Linked DNA regions of Homo sapiens: region 2 is linked to region 1. The links are contacts of gene promoters, found by promoter capture Hi-C in human tissues and cell types (Jung and others, 2019). All regions are on one chromosome and are shown on one strand. The core of a region is centred on a gene start or on the middle of the fragment in contact, and the rest is flanking DNA. Distances in the headings are between cores, read along the strand shown.

What was found. The method cuts DNA at HindIII sites, captures the fragments that hold promoters and counts their contacts. A contact is called where the count stands out against the background at its distance.
Region 2: a fragment that was not itself captured here is called in contact with the fragment with the promoter of SKOR1 in region 1 in 1 of the 25 tissues and cell types used here (IMR-90 fibroblasts).

What each region holds. Positions count from the first base shown.
Region 1 is chr15:67,821,689-67,828,159 of GRCh38, reverse strand. It overlaps SKOR1 (SKI family transcriptional corepressor 1), which reads right to left and starts at 2,651. Exons shown (of 9, transcript NM_001365915.1): 1 at 2,451-2,651; 2 at 16-2,224. The coding sequence starts at 2,557. It overlaps LOC124903570, which reads right to left and starts at 4,783. Exons shown (of 4, transcript XM_047433429.1): 1 at 4,721-4,783; 2 at 4,117-4,201; 3 at 2,758-3,521; 4 at 2,576-2,647. The coding sequence starts at 4,783. The coding sequence ends at 2,576. RefSeq lists enhancers at 107-744, 745-1,383. The HindIII fragment of the contact is 30,837 bases long and covers 1-6,471 here.
Region 2 is chr15:67,600,000-67,606,470 of GRCh38, reverse strand. It overlaps MAP2K5 (mitogen-activated protein kinase kinase 5), which reads right to left. Exons shown (of 22, transcript NM_145160.3): 8 at 5,722-5,786. Among named protein-coding and RNA genes, the nearest start is that of MAP2K5, 61 kb to the right of the region's middle. The HindIII fragment of the contact is 8,159 bases long and covers 1-6,471 here.

The sequences.
Region 1 (6,471 bases), core at 1,402-3,901:
GGGCGCGGGGCTCACCTTGGCCGGCGCGGGGCCTCCTAGGGGCCCGCAAGGCTCTCGCAGCTCGTAGCCGCCGCCGCCGCTTGGCGGGCTCCTCTCAGGTCTCCGCACCAAGTCTTCGGCTGCCAAGTCCCCAAATGCGGGCCGGCCAGCTGGGGGTGGCCCGAGGCGGCGCCGGGGGCGGGGGCTGCCGCCGTCGGGAGAGTTTGCGGGACCGTCCGCGCCAGAGGAGGTGGCGGAAGGGGGTCCAGTGGGCTGTTCACCGTCTGGGCCGCCCCCTGCGCTGGGTGCGCTGGGCTCGGTCTCCTCTTGGGCGTCCTCGTCGTCGGGGAAGCGGTTGGATTCCACGTCCACCTCGGGCTCGTCCGCGGTGTCCACGTCGGGCGAGGCGGAATTGTAGCTGGAGCTGCCCTCGCTCAGAAAGTCCGGGCTCACGTAGCCGCCGCTCCCAGCGCCGGGTCCCGGCCCCCGAGCAGGCCCCGCGCCGTACGCCTCCCGGGCGCTCCCGTAGAGCTTAGCGATGCTCTCGGTGTCCTTGACCACCGGCCGGAAGGCCGACACGTAGGAGCCTTTGCGTGCGGGCGGCGGGGGCGGCGGGGGCAACGGGGCCAGGGGCGGTGGCAGCGCCTCGTCCGTGCCGTCTTCGTCCAGGGGCCCGCGGGACAGAGCGCTCGGGCAGCGCTCCTCCGCGCCGAGGCCACTCTCTTTGGCTGGCTCGGCACCGTCCAGGGGCTCTGGGGCACCGCTGCCAGCAGCTGCCGCTGCCGCCGCCGCTGCCGCCGCCACGGCTGCCGCCACGGCCTTGGCTTGGCTCTGAGCAGCGGGGTAGGACGGTACCGGGAGGCTGCCTGCTGCTGGCCAGAACATGGGAAACGTCGGGTACACAGTGGCGGCGGCGGCCGCTGCAGCCACTGCCGCTGCGTCCTTGGCTGCCCCGGAGGGTTGATGCCCCCAGAACATGGCGCCGCCGCCCGGGCCCGCCCCTGCCCCCGGGGGCAAGTGGCTGGCTCCCGGGCCCCCCGCACCCCCGCCTGTCCCCGCGCCGCCGCCGCCGCTCCCAGTGCCAGGACCGCCCTTTGGCTCGCCCGCGCCTAAAACCGGGTCGTCCTTTTTGGGGCATAGGCCGAAGGCCGTAGGGAAGCCGTAAGGATGGGGGAAAAGTGGTGGGGGCAGCTTTTGCAGGAGCCCAAAGCCTTTGCTGGGCACCGGGATCACCGGGTAGCTTCGTACGCCGGCGCCGCCACCGGGCCCTCCTGGGCCCGCCGGGCCACTAGCTCCAGTCGCCAGGCCAAGTCCGCGCTGCGGGTGGGGTGGAGGTGGCCCCGGAGGCCCGGCAGCCTCATCTTCGCCACAGCGCAGGCTTTTGTGGGGCGGCGGGCCTGGGGCCATCTCTGCACCGCACCCTGGGCCACCGCCGCCACCGCCGCCAGCACCACCCTTCCCCTGCCCACCCGACCCGCCATTGGCACCGCCTCCGCCGCCTCCTTGTAGGGAGAAGGTCCGCTTGCGCGTGCCGCCATTAAACATGGCCTTGACGTCCTCCCAAGCATGGCTCAGTTCGTCTGTGGCCGACTTGTCACTGAGTTTGAGGTGACGACGCCAGGAGTTGAAGTTGGCGGCATCGGGCTGCGTGTACTTGGCGTCGGGTGTTCGGTGCGAGTGGAAGATGAACTTGTTGGGCGAGAAGTACATGCTGCAGTAGCCGCACTTGATGCACTTGGCACGAGAGCTGTTGTAACGCGCAGGGATGAAGCTACCACGCGAGCCCCACGCGCACTCGTGCACCACATCGAAGGCGAAGTTCTCGGGCAGCTTGGGTGGTTTGTGCTCGCCCAGGAACGACTTGCACAGGCGTTCGGCCTCTCGCTTAGTGATCATGCCGCAGCGGCGCGACGAGATGGGCATGGCCCCGGCCCGACGCAGAATCTCCAGCTGTACCGGCGTGCACTGCACGCACGTGATGCCCAGGGCCACGCGGCGGTTGTGGATCTCATTATAGCTGTAGTTCTTGAGGAGGGTGTTGGAGATCTGCGCCAGGCATAGGCGCTCCTGGCCGTCGATGACCAGCGACACAATGGGCACCCCGTACAGCGACGTCTCGCCCACCTGGTTGGGTTTGAGAGCGCTGGAGCCCGAGTACGGCTGCAGCTCCTGCTTGGAGTTGGGCGAGGAACTGCCCTCGCGCCCCGGCCCCAGCTGAGTGGTGAGAGCCTCCATGCCGCCGCTCCTGCGAAATAGAGAAAGCAGAGAGCAGATGAGCCATTTTCAGCGCCGCCGCCGAGGCTCGGGCCCGCCCAGCAGGGCGCTCCGAGTTGGGCGCGCGGGGGATACTTGGCAGTGGGGAGTCCAAACTCATTCACCCCCTGGACAGGCGTCTTTTGTTACTCAGACCCATGTTGGCGCCGTTAACAACAGCCCCCGGGGCTTGGGGGAGGAGAAGGGGTAAAGGAGACCTCAGGAATGCCCGGGCTGCAAGGAACCCAATCCCGTTTTCGGATTGGGAAGGAAGTGAAACCCAGATACGCAGAGTGACTTGCCCAAGGCCACACAGCAAAGCCATTGCCAAATCCTGGCTTTTTCAGCGCCCAGATCCGTGCGCCTTCGGCAACCCTCGCAGCCGGTGCTGCCGGCCCGGGTCCTGAAGCCCGGACTTCGGGGATCGGCCGCCCCTCTGCTCAGTCGCGCATGCACGCGGGCGGGCGGGGGCAGTGCAAGGAGGGGTGGGGAGGGGGGAGGGGCGGTCACTGCCCATCTCCAGACAGCAGGGGGTAGAGGGGGGTGAAGAGAAGGAGGGGGGTGAGGAGAAGGAGGAGGGAACCGTGTCTGCCAGGGAAGGAGAGAGGCGGAGGCTACCGCTGTTCGCGGTGCTGAACCTGACCCTCTCCAAAGCGCTCGGTGCGCACCCGGACCTAGCGCGGCCCCCACCGCACCCAGCTTGGTGCCCGAGCCGGCTTCAGGGGACAACATTGCCAGTTTCCACAAACCCGAGCTTCTCCTCTCACGGCTGGCGCCCGCGTTCGTTGAGCAGAAAGATTTCGGCTGGATATATAAACCGTTTTCTTTCCAGCTATTAGTGAGACCAGGATCCTGCAGTTCTAACCACATTTTCTGCATTTTTAGCTGTATTCCAGACCAAAGCTGGTTTCCACCGAGGTCAACGTGTGGGACAGAGAGGTTCTCAAGGAACTTTGTTGGGATCCACTTCTTAGCTTCCAGTCGCCCACTCCTTGAGCTTTCCTCCTTCAGATATACGTTTCCCACTCGGGCCAACTGCAGGATTCGGGGCTCTGGGCTTCCTCTTTGAGGGGCATCACCTCTCTGAGTATCCTTCATGCCTCGCTGTCCCGGCTCATATGGGCTAGAAGGAATCTCAGCCATCTTCGTAGCCATTGCAAGGCTCCAGGCACACAAGTTGCTGCTGGTCCTTGCACTTTGCTTTCTGGCTGAGGCAGGGAGGGAGCTGTGCAGGCAGACCTCAGCAGCGGGGGTACTTGGGGACTGATGTTTGGGGCCCTCTAGGTCGCCTGACCCAGCCACATGTCCTCAGACAAGCCAGGCTCCCATCCGGCCCAAGGCTGCAGGCGCTCCTGCGGCCAGGGCAGCCCAACCCTGAGGGCTCCTCCCCTGCAGTCGGCCCTGAATGTAACTCCGTTTTCAGAGGGGCAGCTCCAGACAGGGGATCCCAGTTCAAAAGCCTTCAGCAAGGAGACTGGAATCTTCTGTTTATCTGTCTCTCTCCCTTCTTCTCTATTTGTCTAGGAGACCCTCATTTGTCGATCTTATCTGTCCCTGAGCTGTCTCTGCCGGCTCGTTCCTCTTTCTCTCATCTGTTTTGTACCTTCTTCAAGTATCAAGCTATTTATGTATTATCTGTCTGTTTCATCTTTATCTCCGAGGATCGAACTAAAATAAGTTGACCCTTATTTCGCGTTGAAGTCCTTTATATCATTGTAGGAGGCAAAAACACTGTCCTAACTCCCCGGCTGACAAGCCTCGCGCCCTCCTGGAGGTGGCTGGAGGGCGCGCAGCGCTGGGAAATGACAGCTTCTCGGTTTCTCGAAATCGGCAACTATGCCTGGCCCGCATACAGTGAAGACAGCGCCCGAGCCGAGAGCGTACCCCAGTTGAGGGTCCTGGGTCCCTGCGCGGTTTTCCCTGAGTGAGAGGAGGGGGGTCCGGGCCCGGAGTCAGAAGAAGGGGGTCCCTAGGAAAGGAACGGAATTTCGGGGGCCAAAGCGGAAAGCACAGGCGAAGAGCCATATGCAGCGACAAGGAGCAGCAGCCAGAGCAGCTTGAGGAACCCCCGTCGGCTCCCGGAGCTAGATGGACGAGCTTGGGGAGGGCAGCGAAGCGGGAGACTGGCAGTGGTGGGAGCGAGGCGGTGGTGTCTTTAGGTATAATCATAAAAACAACAGCCACAGGAGCCCAAATCAGAACTAAACGAAAAAAAAGCTGCAGGAGCAGAGCGCGGGGGCGGCGGGCTACCGGACGTGGGTACTCACAGTGCGGCGGCGGCTGGAGCCGGGCGAGCGGTGAGCGGAGGTGCGCGGCGGGAGGAGCGGCGGGCGGGAGTCCGGGATCCGCCGGGCTCTCCGGGTGACGGCGCGGCCCCTCCCCGCGCGCGCGCACAGCCGTGCTCCCTGGTTCTCCGCGCTCCCACCCGCGGCCCCTCCCGCTCTCAGCGGGCACGGGGCGCCGGGACCCCGGGCGCGGAGATGCGAACCCTGAGCCGTTGACCCCGAGGCCGGGGACTGGCCGGAAGAAGAGGCCGAAGCCTGGAGCGCATGGCGCGGCGGCGGGGACGGCGCGGTCACAGCCCGAGTGGCGGGGCAGGCGCGCCTGACAGCTGAGAGCCGGGGCGCCACACCCACCGCCCGCGCAGTCGCTAGCGCCCTCCCCGGGTCCGCCCGCCCGCGGGCCACGCGCGGCGCCCGCCGCCTCCCCGCAGCCCAAGGCCTGCACGCCCCAGGTAAGCGGCCGCACACCTGCGTCCAGCACCCTGCACCTGCGTCCCGCTCTAGCTGGAGAGGCCAGGAGGGAGGAAAGGCCCTGGGGCCATAAAGTTTGTCCCCAAGAACGAAGTGGGGAGGGCCCAGTGCTCCCGGCCAAGGAGCCAGTTTTGGTCTGGGCCAAAACCGGGTGATGGGGCTAAGGGGGACTCAAGAGGAACGGGCGCAGGGAGGAGTACTTCACTTTCCGGCCGCAGGCGAGGGCCAGGGTGGTGGAGCCTAGAGTGGCCCTCGGGAACCAGTAGGGTCACCAGAGACCGGGACAGGGACCTGGGTGCAGGGCAGCGAGGATGGCACCCGGGAAGGAGCAGATCTGCCTCTCCCATGCTCCTGACTTCGGTGGGAGGTATCAAGAGAGAGCTCTAACCTGAGGAGGGGCGTTCTCCTGTTTCCGTCCCTGGGCAGGGGACTTGGGAACTAGGTTTGGGGAGCCCTCGGCCTTGAATGCCTCCCTTCGCCATCACCAACAGGCCCAGGGCAGGAGCCAAGTCATCGTTGGGAGTGATCTGAGGTTAACTACGCTCTCAACGCTGCTAAGCCAGTTTCCCCAAGGGGGAGGTCCAGTCCTCTGATGCTACAGACGCCCCTGGGTACCTCCTCTCTCTCCTCAAAGCTCCGTTTCTCTCCATCCCTTTCCTGTCTCAGTCGGTCTCTCCGTCTTCACCATTCTTTCCCCTAACGCCCCACTGGGTCCCCTTCTCTTCCTCTCTCAATCTGTCTCTACTTCTTCGTTTGAGTTACTAGTCGCACCCCGCCCCTCTTAGCCCGCACCCAGGCGCCCCGTTGGCCGCTTCCACCACCTCCCTCCCTGCCCCCCTGGCATTAAGTGTCCTTAATGGACACGTTAATTAAACTGTAATTAATCATACTGTCCGGCCCAAGTTTGAACAATTACCCTAATCAAACAGAAGTTAATAATGGCAGGGATGGCCTGGGGCGCGACGGGCCGCCTGGGCAGGGGGCGCAGCGGCCACGGCGACTACCGGCGGTGGCAGCAGCGACGAACGCAGCCTGTCCTTGGAACCCGGGAGGCGCCATAAATCTTCCGCGGGTAGCAGCGCGGGGTCGCCTTCTCCCCTCTCGCCTCGTTTTTCCCTCGGGCTACCGGGTATGGTCCCCTTTCCCTCCTGCGTTCCAACTCCTCTGGGGCGTGTCTCCCCTTTTCCTCCACTTCTCCCCTCTCTTCCTTTCCCTCCTGGCTCGCAGAGACCCTGGGAAGGGACTCTGGAAGCGCGAACCGATAGCTCAGGCCTGGTGAAGGGACTGAGGAGAGGGCAGGCCCAGCCCACAGACTCCTTTGCCTTCTTCCCGGCTACCCTGGCTGACGTAGGTTACCGTTCTCCTAGGCCCCGAAAACCTCTCCCAAGTTTGTGGGCTCTGTCTCCTCTGAGGGTCTCTTTTAGATCGCGTTCTTGCCCTCTTCCCCCTCCTCGGTTCCGGTCTTTCTGTCTCGGATCTCCCTGCC
Region 2 (6,471 bases), core at 2,618-5,117, 220 kb after region 1:
TAATGGTATACATTCAACCTTCAAAACACCATGAAGGCAGTATATATACTACCCATTGTATCACTGAGAAAATTCTACCTCAAGTCCAGATCAGACTCTTACTCTATCCTGTGGGAAGGAGCTGGAGATAGAAAATTCAGTTTTCAAACATCTTGAGACTAGATTATCTGGCCCCAAAGCTGAAAATATGAGTCTTGGCTTGAATAACTGGCATTAAGGAAAAAATAATATAAAAGATAATCTTTCAGTGATTGCTGGCTAACTGACTTACTATGATTTAATCCTAAAAGTTAAATATTACTTCATTTCTAGATCCAAAGTTTGAGTGACTCCATCAAATGATATGCCAAGGAAGCAGAGTCTGAGAGACTGGCTTTGGAATCAAACAATGTTTCCAAAGTAACTATGCCTGTTAATTACTTTTATTTCCATATGACATACTACCCAAGAAAAAGAGACAGTAACTAGTGAGTCAACAGATACTAAGCACTGAAGGTTTTAACATTTTAAAGAAAGTTAATCATTCGAATATCAATCTCCTCAGTGTGGATATTCTTTTTCTTCTAGGTGAATGTTCTACAACAATTGTACAGCCTCGCAAAGTAGCTAGATATGAGGAAGATCCAATGAAAGAGCCCCACTAAAACCTCCACTTGCCTCATTCTCATTTTAGCCAAGACGTACCAAGGGTCTATTTTATCCTTAAAACTGTGCTGGGTACATGAGAAAACACAAGAAAACAAAATGGACTCTGCTTGACCTTGAGACAACACTGCCTGGGGGAAGAACACCAAGCAAAAAGAAAAGAAATGCTGTATAGAAATCTGGCTTTGCTGCTGAATGGCCACATGATAAGCCCCAGTTTTTTCAGTGGTAAAATGGGCTTAACCCAGCTGTCCTATAGCAATCTGAAAATAAATTAGGATTAAAAATACTTTGAAACTTTAAAAAATCATTGTATTTAAGATAATACATAAGATATCATGATTCATTAAGCAACTACAGAATAGAAGAAAATACAGAAGTATAATGTGTATAATATAAAGGCAGAATTTCTCAAAGTTAGTTCAACACAACTATAATTCTGTGAGATGTTTATCAAAAAGAGTCCCATGGCTGGCTGGGGGTGGTGATTCACGCCTATAATCCCAGCACTTTGGGAGGCCAAGGCAGGTGGATCATGACGTCAGGAGATCCAGACCATCCTGGCCAACATGGTGAAACCCCATCCCTACTAAAATACAGAAAATTAGCTGGGCATGGTGGTACATGCCTGTAATCCCAGCTACTCTAGGGAGGCTGAGGCAGGAGAATCACTTGAACCCGGGAGGCAGAGGTTGCAGTGAGACGAGATCTTTCCACTGCACTCCAGCCTGGCGACAGAGCGAGACTCTGTCTCAAAAAAAAAAAAGAAAAGAGTCCCATGGCCAAGTCAAGGTAGGAAGTACAAAATGTAAATAATTTTTCTATTATTAGTACTACCATTACCAGTAGTTAACATTTAATAAGTGTCAGTCATAGCGCTAAGCCTTTTACGGATCTTCTCATTTAACCTCACAACAACCTAGATACTATTAATTTTTTTTTCTTGTTCTGTTGCCAGGCTAGAGTACAGTGCCACAATCTCGGCTCACTGCAACCTCCACCTCCCGGGTTCAAGCTATTCTCCTGCCCCAGCCTCCCGAGTAGCTGGGACTACAGGCGCCCACCACCATGCCCAGCTAATTTTTATATTTTTAGTAGAGTCGGGGTTTCACTATGTTGGCCAGGATGGTCTCAATCTCTTGACCTCGTGATCCACCTGCCTCGGCCTCCCAAAGTGCTGGGATTACAGACGTGAGCCACCGCACCCCGCCCAACCTAGATACTATTATTATCCCCATCTTGCAGATGGGAAAACTGAGGCATAAGACATTATATAACTTGCCAAAGGTTACGTAGCTAATTAGTGACAGAGGCAGGATTCAAACTTAGAGCCCTCACACTTAACCACAACACATACTATTCTCTACTTTCTCAAAGTTTTTGAAATTCATTATGAATCTCTCAGAGGGAAATAGAACATGTGTCTTTCCTGAATTTATTTTTTTGGAGCAACTTGCAGCACTTTAGGAAATGAGGCAACAAGGAAAATACATTCATTATCTTTTCCTAAACTTTTCTTCTTCCTAGGCTTGGGCCATACTTTAAGGTATTTCCTTTATGTTCCATGTAGCCCAAATTAGTAATCCAAGAAATACCAACTTAAAATTACCTGCCTAAGTCACTCTCATAATATAGAGCACAGCTCGTCAGGAGACAGCACACAGAATTCACATTACCATTTGGTTTAAATGTCTGGGGCCAGAATTTCATATTGTACAACTGTGAAGGATATCTACACTTAAAGGAGGAAAATGTATCAACTGTTAAATCATATACATTGTAATTACACGATTATAATATCCCTTGAAATTCCCAAAATTCCATCAAGTGAAGTGAATAAGACTGCATTATTAAACTTTTGCTTTGCACTTATTAGCTTTATTACACTTTAAAGAAAAAAATGGAATAAGCCTATTAGGCAGTTTTGTTACCAATGAGTGGATTTTCCAATATTTTCTTCATCTAGTTTATGTAGCATAGCCTATAATGTAATCATGCTGTTTGAAAAACCATATTTTTTATCATCAACACCATTAAGGTGAACTTAGTGTAGAAGAAACTCAATCATAACACATCAAACACTTAGTTTTATAGAGACTTTAGTAAAGTGGATCCTCATTTATCAATGATTATATCATTTCTTTGCACTGTACTAAAAGCCAGGGATATAAGAACAATAATACAAGCTGAAGCCTGAGCAAAAATGATGCCCAATGATCAATGACAAGCGGTTATGCAATTTGGTATCTTCACCGCCCCTCTCAAGAATCACACAGGCAATAAGGTAAATGAAATTTCTTTTTATAAGAAATCTACTATATAAGAATGAAAATTATCAGGATACTGTCATTCACCATCTATAAGCAATCCTGTCAAAAACATTACATCTTACAACACTCACAGTGAGCATTAGCAACGGTAGCTAAATGAGCTCTTAGGATAAATTCCTAACGTTACACACAGCATTCTAGCAAATTAAAAAACTTGTGGCAAGGACATATAGAAGAATGGTCCCTTTGACATAGTAGCCCTAATTAAAGGAGAAGTTCTAGCCATGCTTCTTAGCTAAAAACAACATTAACAGAGTGATGGGGGAGTTACTGTTTAATGGGTGCAGAGTTTCGATTACACAAGACGAAGAGTTCTGTGGATGAATGGTGTTAACAGTTGCCAACAATGTGAATGTACTTAATGCCACTAACTATACACTTAAATATGGTTAAAATGTTAACTTGAGTTATGTGTATTTCACCACAATTTAAAATAACAATTTTAAAAACAACATTAACATAATTTCATGTTGTAATTTTCCCTTGGGGGATGGGCATGTTTTTTCCACTTCTCTGTATACTCCCTCTTTTAAAAAATAAACCTGGCCAGGTCTGGTGGCTCACTCCTGTAATCCCAGCACTTTGGGAGGCCAAGGCAGGTGAATCACGAGGTCAGGAGCTCGAGACCAGTCTGGCCAATATAGTGAAACCCCATCTCTACTAAAAATACAAAAATTAGCTGGGCATGGTGGCGTACGCCTGTAATCCCAACTGCTTGGGAGGCTGAGGCAGGAGAATCCTGGGAGGCAGAGGTTGCACTGAGCTGAGATCGTGCCACTGCACTCCAGCCTGGGCAACAGAGCGAGACTCCATCTCAAAATAAACAAACCAACCAACAAACAAACAAGCCTATGTTTTAAAATAAAGGATTAAAATGTCAACATCTAGAATATTATGTCTCGTAAAAATTCTGCTGGGGTTTCATGGTCTTATGCTTCTTCCCTTCTAGAAATAAGCTAGGAAAATAAATTCACAATAGACCTTCAATTAATATAAAACTAAAGGTTTGGTGAAATAACACAGATAAGTAGGTTAGGAGTCTAAATAAACATTTTTAAATTCCATTTGAAGCAAATAAAAGGAATACAAAGAGTTGCCAGAAATCTTTCCTGTTTTATTATATTTGGCTATCAGCATAAAGGCATTAAGAAGAAAGGTTCAAGCTTTGAAAAGTGCTCCCTCCAGGGAACTCAATAGAAGCAAATCAGAGTATACATGTTCCTTCTTCCTCTTTCCTTTCTATGGGTACCTGAACTTAAGTACCTTCAGAACACAGGAAAAATCTAAGTCAGATCGTAAGGAAGAGAAGACTAAGATGAAAAGATACCGTTTATAGTGGAGGTTGCGTGGGAAGGAACGCTAGTATGATCCAGGGAAAGAGAATAGTAGCCGCAAAAATCATTAGACACATTGGACCTCAATTTTAAGGGCCAGGCCCAAGGCCCAAGGAACATGTAAGAAACATGTTATTATTTATTTCTCTGAATTATCATAGTGGAAGAACTTCATTTTCAGACCAACTGTTCACAATACTCAGTCATCTGCAGGAAAAAACAATCCAAACATGTGAACATAAGTTCTTAAAGGACTATATTCAGGAGAAAGGACTCACATCTTGGCTGTATCTGCAAAGGGCACTGAAGCCCTGAATGGGTGACTGGATCAGATTACTTCAAAAGAGCTTCTAAGCCTGAGAAATCAAATTCTATACCAAGGCTGCATCAATGAGTAGGGGATGTTCTGGGATTTTTAGGATGTGAACCTTCATGGTCATAGAATAGGGCAATTTTTATGTGTATTCATGTGGTTAGTCAGAACTTAAAATTCTAAGAACATGGGTAACCAATTAGAAAATAAGTTAATTATTTTACAACTCTGGAAATACATATTAATATCAATGTTAAAGTATCTGTGGTTGTGATCTAATATCACAACCATAATGTGATGCAGGATTAGTGTATACATGGAAAACCAGCTCTCTGGAGGAAAGTTTTATTATTCCCTCAGGGCTTTCTTACAGAGTATGGATTTTTTAATTCCTAGTGGAATATTTTTCATACACCATTGCAGACTATTAAGTACCAGATATTACATTATGTAGTTTAAACTTTGCACTACTGCATGAGAAGACCTCCCTGTCGGAGAACTATTTTTTATGGCTAGCATTTTTTAAGATGAAAATGAACATTCCTTTGGGGTAAGATCACTGCAACTGGAATTTGGGAGAACTTTATAACTTAACATATTCATCAATGTGTAGAAATTATCTCAGGGGAGTAGGGTGAGGAGAGAAGAAAATACAACAGGAAGAAGGCTTTTTAATAACTTATAGTGTTGACACAGGGCAAAGCAATGGTATTTATAAGGTCTGGCTTCCACTGGGCATAACTGTAAACAGGCAGGGGACTAGCGTAGGGTACTAGCAAGTTAAAAAATAATAATAATAGTGTTAAAAAGCAAAGGAAAAAAATGCATTAAACTTCAGGCCAGTTAAAGGTACACTTACTAATGGTGGACTATTAACTACACACCCAGGAGAGTTGCAGACTCGGAAATATTAAAAAGGCAATATAAATGCACTTTCCAGGCAATTCTTGAGAAAATAGATGTCTTGCAGAATTTTGGAGTCAAATATGGAAATAAAATCTAAGTGTTAGTGGTCATTTAAAAATCTTTGCCACAGAGAACTTGGATACTCAGTATTTGGAAAAGCGGATAGAAAGTTTAAACAAAATTGACTACTCACTTGTAGACTGTGCCTCCGTTGCCATGACCAAGAGTGTCCCGATATCGTATGTCTTGTTCATTCATCTCCACAAGAAAGAAAGAAAAACAAAAAGGGTGTCATGCTGTGGATGGAAATGTCAAGGAAAAGCAACTCTGGGCCATAAACAACAAGCAGTCTGGGTCATTTCAAGTTCAGCTGCAAAAACGAGAAGATCAATACAACGTTTGCTGTCCAATTTATAAAAGACGATACCAAGGGACGAAGTGATGGAAAGTTTAATGACAATTTGTTTGCCTGGGTCATTTCATTAAAGTTTGATAAAAGGTGTCAAAATGGAATGATACAACATAGCTCAAAAGGGTCAGGTCAGAGATACTGATAAGAAAACAGTCTCCAGTACTGCATATAACCAATGCCAAAGAGCACTGCACATAACCAAAGTCAAACTTAGGAAGACAATACACACACACACTCAGTAATCTAATGCATGATCTGTAAATAAATCAGCCCTAGAAAACTCCTCAGATGACCCCCATAATTAACATTTAACAAACTAAATAATGTTTATGATTTTCCTAGAGTAGATATAGCTTTTCTTTGCAAATAACAAACTAGTATACAGCAATAATTAGGCAGAAATCATATTATGAAGATGGAAAAGCACGAAATCAATGCACTTAAGATGCACATATAGTCGAATATTATAATACATAAAGGAAAAATACATAGGCATGTAATTTTTATTAAAGTCATTTTCGTAACTTTATA